Linked DNA regions of Homo sapiens: region 2 is linked to region 1. Evidence: promoter capture Hi-C in human tissues and cell types (Jung and others, 2019). All regions are on one chromosome and are shown on one strand. The core of a region is centred on a gene start or on the middle of the fragment in contact, and the rest is flanking DNA. Distances in the headings are between cores, read along the strand shown.

The links. The method cuts DNA at HindIII sites, captures the fragments that hold promoters and counts their contacts. A contact is called where the count stands out against the background at its distance.
Region 2: a fragment that was not itself captured here is called in contact with the fragment with the promoter of GLI2 in region 1 in 2 of the 25 tissues and cell types used here (IMR-90 fibroblasts and neural progenitor cells).

What each region holds. Positions count from the first base shown.
Region 1 is chr2:120,733,764-120,738,845 of GRCh38, reverse strand. GLI2 (GLI family zinc finger 2) reads right to left here and starts at 2,978. Exons shown (of 14, transcript NM_001374353.1): 1 at 2,561-2,978. LOC124906073 (a long non-coding RNA gene) reads right to left here. Exons shown (of 3, transcript XR_007087219.1): 3 at 3,996-4,804. It overlaps LOC124907881 (a long non-coding RNA gene), which reads left to right and starts at 1,185. Exons shown (of 2, transcript XR_007087221.1): 1 at 1,185-2,285. RefSeq lists enhancers at 1-366, 773-1,273, 1,274-1,774, 2,893-3,062, 3,702-4,349. The HindIII fragment of the contact is 8,822 bases long and covers 1-5,082 here.
Region 2 is chr2:120,895,002-120,900,083 of GRCh38, reverse strand. All of the region lies in intron 2 of GLI2 (GLI family zinc finger 2), which reads right to left. Among named protein-coding and RNA genes, the nearest start is that of GLI2, 160 kb to the right of the region's middle. The HindIII fragment of the contact is 4,519 bases long and covers 346-4,864 here.

The DNA of each region.
Region 1 (5,082 bases), core at 1,729-4,228:
CAGAATGAGTTTGGGAGCAGCCCGGAAGTCTCTGCTGAAGGAATCTGAACCCACTGCAAATTCAGTCAAATCGATTCCCACAGAGGATAAAACCATCTCTAGCAGTCTTACCTTGTTCCTCGGTGGCTTGGGAGGCTCTTTCTACTATCATTCTAATTCTTTCTACCTATAATTCTAATTCTCTCCAAGAGGCTTTGCAAATAGACCGTTCTGACCACAGTCTCTCACTCAGATGCTAGCCCAACTGAAGGCTGGTTCACCTGAGGGATACCTCCTGGGCAGCTGGGCTCTTTCAAATGCAGGATCTTCCCTGTATTAGCTTAAATCCCCTAAAATCACGAAACAATTTCGTGAAACTGGCATATTTCTCGAAGCAGAGGAGAAAATAAAACCACCCTAAATCTTACCAAATATAATTAACTTTAAAACTCATCAGACAAGCGACAACTTTCCATATGGCTGGGCTTGAGTGGAATTCGAATCCCAGGGAAAAACATCTCCACAATTTCCTGTAACCCTCAAGAGAGAAGCAGCAAGTCTAGGAAAACAAAAGCAAGAACGATGAAGAAAGAGGCACAAGAAGCATAGTCAAAAAGAAGAGAAGGCCCCTGATGGATCTGGATTCCACATTCTAGAATGACTGCCCCAGGACAGACCAGAAGCTGGGAAAAGCCTAAATAAAGAGCCTCCAAACTCAAAGCAGCCAGGCATAGCCAAGGTGCCCCCCGTCCCTGTGGAGTCAGGCCCAGGTAGCCACACCGTGAGCTTCCCCCTAAACAAGCAACTGCAAAGCCGTTCCCAGGCCCCAGGGAGGGCCTGTCCCCAGACACAGGGAAACCCAGCCAAGGGAACTCCCAGCAAGGTAAGGAAATGGGCGGAGAGAAAGCTGGCAGGTGAGGTGGCTGGAACAAACTGGTCTCATCAGGGAGGCCTGTGACAAACCCGCCTATTCCTCCGCTTTCCCCGCTGTATATTTTGGATTTCACAGTTTATTTACTTTACTTTTTGGCACCGAGCCCCCTGAGCATGCCAATACAATATTTGTTTAAACACTATTTTATGCTGCTTGCGAGGGAAACGTTTACTTTCAAATTCTCCTACATCCCCCAGAGCCTCGTCTGCAAACAGCCTATGAGCGTTTTACAACTGCTCCCTTTATCTGAAGCTGTCGGGATTAAACCTTCACACGCCCGGCAAGAGCGGCGGAGAGGGGGCCCGGGACACCGCTGCGGCCACCGAGCTGCAAAGCCCGTGCCAGAGGTCGCGCACCGAGCGGGATGCCCGGGCTGGGGGACAGAGGGACGCCTACAAGACTCCCAGGGCGCGGGACCAGACAGTAGGGACAGGTCTACTTTTCCAGCTGGGATCAACTCTAGGAGCCACAGAACAATTACACAAAAGAGAAGGTAGTGGAAAGAGGCACCCTCGGGGGGGCTCGAGGTCCCCGAGAGCCTCAGCGACCGATCACCCAGGGTGAGGCGCACGGGCTCCATCCCCAGCTCCCCGCGCGGTAAAAGTCGGGTTTCCTAGGAAATGACAGCAGTTACCGCCGGGCTGAAAAGGCGCCGAGCTGGGTGGACTCCCAGCTCTCCAGCGCGGCGGGCGCGCTCACACTCACACACGCAAGCACACGCTCCCTCCCAGCTCCCCGCCCCCGCCCCGTCCGGGGAAAAGACTCCCCTCTCTAAACCCTTAATAGGATTGGCGCCCAACTCTCTCCGCGCCTCTCCCCATCCATCACATACAGATCAAGTTGCAGTAGTGGATTTTTCAAATTCCTCAGCAAATATACTTGTTGAGAGATTGTCGGGGGTGGGGAGAGACGATGAGTAGGGGGGCAGGGATGAAAGTGAGGTGGAAGGGGGAACCGGAGGACCCGGCAAAGGATTACGTGCGGATCCCTTTGGGAAGTCAAGCGGATCTCAGGGCCGAGGGCAGGAGAGGAGGAGAAGAGAGGCAAAGAGGGGGGGCCGAGGAGGAGAGCCCAGCAGAGGGGGAGGGGGCGGCCGGGCCGGGCGAGGGGGAGGAAGGATTGAGGAAGGAAGAAAGAAAGGCAGGGCTCCGGGACGCGCAGCGCGGAGAAGTGGAGTTCGAAGTTCTCAAGTGGCTGGCTGCAGCCCCTCCGCGCTCAGTACGCCCGCAGACACGCTCCCATGCCCACCTACGGCAGCTTCGGAGCATCCCAGCCTCCGATCCCACCCTCCACCCCCTGAAAAAACAGACCCCCGCCGGCGCGCGGAGGCCGGCTCGCTGTGCACCCCGAGAAGAGTGGTGCTCTCCCCCAGGTAGGGAGAGGGTGCAACATCGACCTCTGGCCACGAGCTCCAAGCCCCAGGACTCTCCTTACGTCCCCGCCCTGCTCGTCCAGAGCCCCAGGCGGGGTCGCGCCTACTAGCCTCTAGTCCCCCGAAGCCCAGGGCCCCGATCCCAAGGCCTAGGCGCCGGTACCCGGCCGAGGGACCCCCCGAGACGGCGCAGCATCCCAGTCGGCCCGCGCTTGGCCGAGGTGGGAGGCGCTTCGTCACGAAAAGCAAGCAAAAGAAGGCCAATGCAACTTTACCGAGAGAGACAAAAGTTTGCCTCTAGCACGCAGGTGGCCTCTCGGGCGCCGGGCGGTGGCTGTGGGCCCCCATCCCACCTTGGCTGGCGCGGCGACCCTCGGCTGGCTGCCTTGTGCCGGGGCTCCAGCCAGCCGGGGCGGGGCGGGCCAGGCAAGAGAGGGGACCGAGAGGCGGGCGGGCGCCGCGCAGCCCCTACCGCCGGCGAGCAGGCGGCTCCCCGAGGCTGCGGCGCGCCGCGCGGCCCAAGCTCTTTCCTCCGGCTCCTCCTGCGGCTCCTGGCCTTCCTCCGCGTTCGCAGTCGCAGCCGCCGCCGCCGCCCGCTCCTCCTCGAAGTCTCATTGATGGGAGTTTGAAAAAAAGTCCGCGGAGCCGTGCTGCCTCGGCTGGCAAGCGCCGGCACTTCTGCAATCCATCAGCGCCGCCGGACTGCGCAGCGCCCCCGCGCGCACGGTGCGGGCACACCCGGGCCCCAAGAACCCGCCAGCCAGCCCGCCCGCTCCCTGCCGGGGGACGCAGGGGGACCCGAACGCCGCCGGGGCGGGGGGAGGGGAAAGGGGGAGCACAGGGACTCTCCCCACCCAGCACCAAGGAAAGAAAACGCACCTACAAGGAAAGTTCGAGAAAGGAACCAAAGGACGCGCCAATCTCCGACACTTTTTTTAGACGACTAGGTGTGGGGGGGGGGGTTGGGGGTGTCGCTAACTCAAGTCAGATGAGCTCCGGAGCTGAGGGGCAAGGGCTGCTCTGTTTTCAATCTCTGAAATCCCCCCGCCCTCCCCACCTCCCACTTCCCTCCTCGGGGAGATGCCTGGGTCGCTGTTCCCAGGGCGCCCGCTTCTCTGGACGCCCGCGCGGAAGCCGGGGACGCCAGAGAAGGGACGCGGGGGCTGGGTCCACGCGGACCCTCTTCCCGCGGGCAGCGAGCGCAGGTGCCGGGGGTCCTGAGGCGTCCCCCGCCGCCGCTAGCCCTCGTCGCCATCTGAGCACACGCTGGCGAGAAACGAAGCAGCCTTCTAGGTTTGGTGCATGTGGCTTGCAGGGTGGGTTTTTGTTTTGTTGTGTTGTGTGTTTTAGAGACTCCACTCGAGCCGCTGAAGCCAGATGGAAGTAATCAGAACCCAACAACAACAGAGAAAGAAGGAAGAAAAAACTCCTCATTGAATTTTCTAGCCAAAGTGTATATGGGGCTGTGTGTGAAAGAACTTGCTTAAGCAAGCTCAGTGAGGAGCCCTGGGCCCTCAAGCCACACCACAGCCCGGAACTGGGCCGCCAGGCTTGGAGGAGAATTGGGGGCAGCTGGCTAAAGTGTCCTCCCCACACCCCCGGGCCTGCCACCCTCTCCAGGGCCCCTGGGCCTCACCCGAAGAGGGTCTTGGGGGGAATTTCTGGTTTTATTCTTCCTAACGTTTGTAGAACACTCTACCAAGTGCCAGGTGATGTTATATTTTCTTTGTATTATTGGACTTTCACAGCTCTGTAAGGAAGGTTCTCTTCTCGTGTTTTTACAGGTGGGAAGTCTGATGCTTTAAAAAGTTAAGTAACTAGTCTAAGGTCAGAGCACTCTGCCATCCTCCCAGAGCTTCGGGTGGTTGTACTGTAAGTTCAGTTAAATTTGCCCTGTTGGGCCGGGCGCGGTGGCTCACGCTTGTAATCCTAGCACTTTGGGAGGCCGAGGCACGGGGATCACCTGAGGTCAGGAGTTCAAGACCAGCCTGGCCAACATGGTGAAACCCCGTCTCTACTAAAAATACAAAAAATTAGCCAGGGATAGTAGCGCGCGCCTGTAATCCCGGCTACTTGGGAGACTGAGGCTGGAGAATCTCTCAAACCCCTTGGGAGATGGAGGTTGCAGTGAGCCATGATGGCGCCACTGCACTCCAGCCTGGGTGATGGAGCGAGACTCTGTCTCAAAAAAATAAATTAATTAAATTAAATTTTTAAAAAATTGCCCTGTTGAGGTGGGTGGAAGTGTCTCTCCCTTCAGCCCCTGTTCCTAAAATTGCATTTTATTTGAAATGCAAGGGACCCAATGCTACCCTCCCTGAGGGGATGTGACCTACACAGGCCCATTTCACCGGTGCAACCCTTTTTGTGGGTGGCTCTCTCCATATACCTTTTATCCTCTGCTAACTTTATTCTTTTACTTTTTAATCAAAGAGGATGCATTAGAACTTCATTCCTTAAGATCCTCCTTCCTCCTCCTGACATTCACTTATATGATGGAGCAACAATTTCTTCTTGACCTAGAGAAAAAAATATGCAGAAAAATATTAGAACAATTTGATGCTAATTTTGTTTGGGGGGAAAAGGTCGGCAGCATTTTTAAAAAGCGAAACTTGCATAAGCCAATGATTTAAAGAGAAGTTTGAAAGGGGCTTTTTCTTTAAAGATGATCAGATTCACCATTCCTCCGTGCTATTTGTTTAAATTCCTGCTGAGCTTTCAGAACACAGACTCTAAGGAGACAGAAAAAGTAAACTCTCCCTCCCCTCCTTGGCCATATTTTAATGACCCTATTCAT
Region 2 (5,082 bases), core at 1,356-3,855, 160 kb before region 1:
AAAGTAAAGCAAACTTTCCCCAGCAGTTCCCAGTGTGGCCCCCGGCCGGCAGCCTCTGCATGTCCTGGGAGCCTGCTAGAGACGCAAATCCTCCGCACCTTCCCAGGCCCTTGGAATCAGAAGCTGGAGTTGGGGCTCAGCAGTAACAGGCTTGTGGGTGATGCAGCAATCCTAACAAAGCTCACTGTCACAATGGCCCCTGTCCACATAACAGGGTCATTTGCATTTTACTGCAGGTCCACACCTGGCTTGGACACCAGTTAGAAAAACAGCCTGCCTTTACACTCGCTGTACAAACCTCATTTCTAAAGCGTATTTTCATCGATGACTTCACTTAACCCTCAGAGTAGCCACAAGAAAGAGGAAGATGGGCACCGCCATTCCTATTCTGCAGAGGTGAGACTGAGTTCCGTTATATACAGGTCCCAGACAGGGCTGAACAGGGCCTTCTGAGACGCTGCTGTGACGCCCACAGTCACCCTCAGTTCACTGCAAGTTGCATCACACAGCCAACGAGACCTTTTCGACCCAGACAAGACTGGCTGATGGCCTTGCGCAGGCTCAGCTAGGAGCAGGCTCGGGGCACTCGCCTTCCTTGGGGAAGCTGCAGCCTGAGGAACAGGCTGTGGGGTGGAATGTGTGTGCATGTGTGTATGTGTGTGTGTGTGTGTGTGTGTATGTGTGTGTACACACAAGTGTGTATGAGAGAGAAAAAGAACATACTTCCAAAAAAGGAAGTCCTGGAAGCAAACCCCTAAAGTGAGAAACGTGCTCTCCCTCCCATCCTCAAGTGTTTGCTTCTATATTACACTGATCTGCAAAACCCATCTCCCACCAAGACGCCTGCTTGTAAAACACAAATGCACAGATGAGGCCCAGCTGCAGCCTGCTCTGGCTCACAATGGCTCACAATGAGCCTGCTCTCTGCAGATTGATCTCCAGGAAAGAGCTCTCCTGGCGGGGTGCAGGAGGCTTGCTGTCCTTCAGAGGAGTTTCCAGTGAAGGACCCAGTGTTTGGAGAGAGGCGTAAATGCGTGAGCAGCCAGGCCCTCCCGGAGGGAGTAGAGGAAAAAGGACTCCACCGCAGACCCTTTCGTTTCTGTGTCTGGAGGTGCCACGTGCTGACAACTGCCATAGCTCCTGGCTTTTCTAACCCTGGTCCTGGATTTAGAAAAGTCTTAGCACCAGCAGCCATGTACAGATTTGTTCCATAACTTGCTCTTTCATTCTGGGTGAGAACAACATCCAGCTACCCCAACTGGTAACTGTCATTTTGGACAAGTCGCTTCACCTCTCTGAGCTGCAGTTTCCTCATCTATTTTCTCTATCTGAGAAAATAACAAAGGACACTTTGTTATGATACAAGCAAGGGACTTCAGATTGGTGATGTCATCCAGAGGAGACTAGAAACCAACAGAATCCTCCGAAAACGCTGTGCCCACAATCTTTGCCCTCTTTACAAAGTAACACAGATACTCCTTGCCACCCAGAGCCGGGTGGTGATAAAATGAAGCTCTCTTTGTAAAGTGTCGAGCCCATAGTGGGTGCTCCATAAATGTTCATTTCCCCTCCCTGAAGCATGGCTCTGCACTCCGAGCTGGAAAGAAAGACAAACGCACCCCAATTCAGTGCGAATCCAGGCATGCACGCCCCAAGTGAGGCAGCCCTCGCTCACATCCATTTGCATTTCCTTCTGCGAGTGCTCCAATTTTAAAAGCTTAATATTTATTTAGATATTTATTTTCACTGTAAATACAACACATGTTTACAGAGATATTTATTTTTCTCTATAAACACAGTAAATGTCTGGGGAAAATATAATCCCAAACTCACAGGACTGGAATGATTTTCTTTATGACAATCATTTTGTGTGTGTGTGTGTGTGTGTGTGTGTGTGTGTGTGTGTTTTAATCTATATCAGTGCCTTATGCCATTGCGTTTTAACCCTAATTTCGAGGGAGTAGGGGGTGGATGGAAACCACTCCACAAAACAGCAACAAGAAAAGACCACAGGTGAAGGGGACCTGTGGTCCCCCTTCACTGAAAATCACAGTGTATCAACTCCTCTGAACGGTGGAAAGCAGAAAGGTGCAGTTCCCAAGGGTCAGCATCAAGATAAGACTTGCTGAACCTGACATTGATGCCTAATGAGTAATAAAATGTCCCTTCATGGGGTAGAGTTACTGGATGATATCATGAGACTTTAGCACCTTAAAGAGGTCTCATAAAATGTTAGCACCCTAAAGAGGTGACCATGTTATATAAATACAGGATAAAAGATACCAGCTCAGCATGAGTATCAGTCAAACCCACTCATTGTACAGAAAGGGAAACTGAGTCTCTAAGAGATCTTCAGGCCTGAGATCAGACATGTTAACGGCAAGGCCTAAATGGGTATTTTTTTCCAGAATAGAGTGGTAAAGATGTGAGTATCTAAGAAAATTACACAAAGTGTCCTTTGTTATGACACAGGTAAGGGATTTCAGGTTGGTGATGTCATCCAGAGGAGACTAGAAACCCAACAGAATCAATCCCCTGGCCTCCAAAAACCCTGTGCCTACAATCTTTGCCCTCCTTACAAAGTAACACATTTACTCCTCAACTTACCATGCCCCAGTAAACCCACAGTAAAGTCGAGCCATTGTAAGTGGAGAACTGTCTCTACTGTGATCACCTTTATTGCTTCAAAATTTATTTTTAGCCTTTAGTAGGAAAGCGGTAGTGTTCAGGCTCTTGAGCAAAACTGAGAGACGATTCTCTGAATCTCTGACAACTCTGGGCAGAGCCAGGGAGCAGGGGCCCATGCTGTTTCAGAGGTTTAGGACTCAAAGGATGGAATCCTCGTTCCCCTAACAGGAAGTCAACACGGGGAGTTTGCTACTTCTGAGGCTGACCCGGACAAGACCAGGAGCTGTGGCCACATTTGTGATGGAGAGGGCGTGGCGGCTGGAGCGTGTCAGTGGGGGTGGTGCTGGGGAGAGGCATGTGCCCGCAGGCAGCCCCATGGGGAACAGTGCAGGAATCTCTTCCCCCAGCCCCTCTCCCTCACACAGGCCACCTGGGACAGAGGTGGACACGTTCCTCCCCTGCCCCTAGGCAAGCACTGGCCTCAACTTCAACTTGTTAATTTCTATTTCATGATCCCCTTTTTTTCTTTCCCCTGATCTCCGCCACTTTTTGTTCAGCCCTGTTACACACTATGCATTTTTGGAGGCTGCCTGTAGAACTACATAGGGTAAAAATGAATAAACGAGCTTCTCAAGAGTTAACTCTTGGTGACTCTTGAGGGATTAACGCCCAAGCTGGGGATTCCTTGAGAAAAAGGGCCAAGGCCTCCGAAGAAGGCTGTGTGTGTGTGTGTGTGTGTGTGTGTGTGTGTGTGTGTGTATGGGTGTGTGTGAGTGTGTGGGGGGGTGGGTGTATGTGTGTGTGTGTGTGTGTGTGTATGTGTGTTTTTCAAAGGAAGCCATGGTAGAGACCTGTTGACACTTCCACCTTCAAAACAAAATGCCAGTTGTTGGTGGTGCTAAAATTTTTACTGCTGTTACCACCACACCAGCACTAGGGCCTTCAGAGTTTCACCCTTCAGAACAGAAACCACCTCCTTATTACTGTCAATACCCCCCCACCCCAGCTTGGTGGGCCTGGCTAATACTCATATCTCTGAGACATGCCGGATCCCACCCTGCCTCAGGCAGGGAAGACAGGGCCCCTCTGGGCTCCCTCTGGACCCCAAACAGCCTTCTGGGGTCATGGCCCTCGCCTACCCACACCCCTGGTGTGTCTGAGTCTCCCACTAGGCCTGGGGTGGGGCTAGGGGGCTGCCTTCAGGCTGACCTCAGGGTGGGGCGGAGAGAGGGTGGGGGAAAGAAGGGAGGGAGAAATCTGAGCCACACTTAATGCTATGAGATCCACAGACCATCAAGGCAGGTGAGAACCAACCTGCCCAAGATCACTCAGGGACAGAGAGGGACAGGAAAACTATGACAGTTCTAACTGTTGGCTTGATGAATCACAACCCTAGAACCTTCACACAGCTCCAGGACACCCTGGCCCTTGTCTGCCTTCTCCAATCTCAGTTTCCTCACCCATAAAATGGGAGGGGAGAGTCACATCTGTCTCACCAGGAGGTGATGAGCAAGAAATAGCTCTAATGACTTCAGAGCCCTTTGCAAATATCAAGGTGTTGGTTAGAAAACCATAGCAACCACAGTGGGCTCAAACCTTTCCTTTTAAAAAGAGGCAAGGAAGGGATTACAAGACGAGGGGAGACCAGTGACCAGACGAAGTGTCTCTGGGTTCCGGGCCCATCCTCCCAGGGAAACTTACTGAGAAGCATGTTTTTGTTTTGTTTTTGTTATTGTTTCTGTTCTTGTTTTTTGTGACGGAGTCTCGCTCTGTCACCCAGGCTGGAGTGCAGTGGTGCAATCTCAGTTCATTGTAGCCTTCACCTCCCAGGTTCAAGCAATTCTCCTGCCTCAGCCTCCCGAGCAGCTGGGATTACAGGCCCATGTCACCATGCCCAGCTACTTTTTGTATTTTTAGTAGACATGGCGTTTCACCATGTTGGCCAGGTTGGTCTCGAACTCCTGACCTCAGGTGATTTGCCTGCCTTGGCCTCCCAAAGTGCTGGGATTACAGGTGTGAGCCACTGCATCCAGCCCTGAGAAGTATGTATTTTTTATTCATAACAATTCACCCCAATTCTAAGGAGAGACTACTTCACTTCCCCTTCCTCCCCTTCTAACAAAGGACTGTTCCTTCCATCAGTTCCCCAGTGCCACATCCAAGCAAAACTTTTCTGCTCCATACTTACAGCCAAGTTCACACGTTTAGTTTTGTTGTTGTTTTTTCATTGTTGTTGTTTTCTTTTCCCTCCCAGTTTCCAAGGAGAGAATTGCTGGCTGCAAACGCTGGAAAGGCTGACACAGAGGGAAGCCAGGCCAGCCTGCAGGGATGGCTGAGGTCCATGCAGTGTCCACAGCCTGGTGGCCCAAGCCTCCACCGGGGAGCCCCTCCCCTCCCCTCCCCATCAGCCAGGTCCTCAAGGAGGCACCCATTGAGGCACTAGAAAGAAAACCA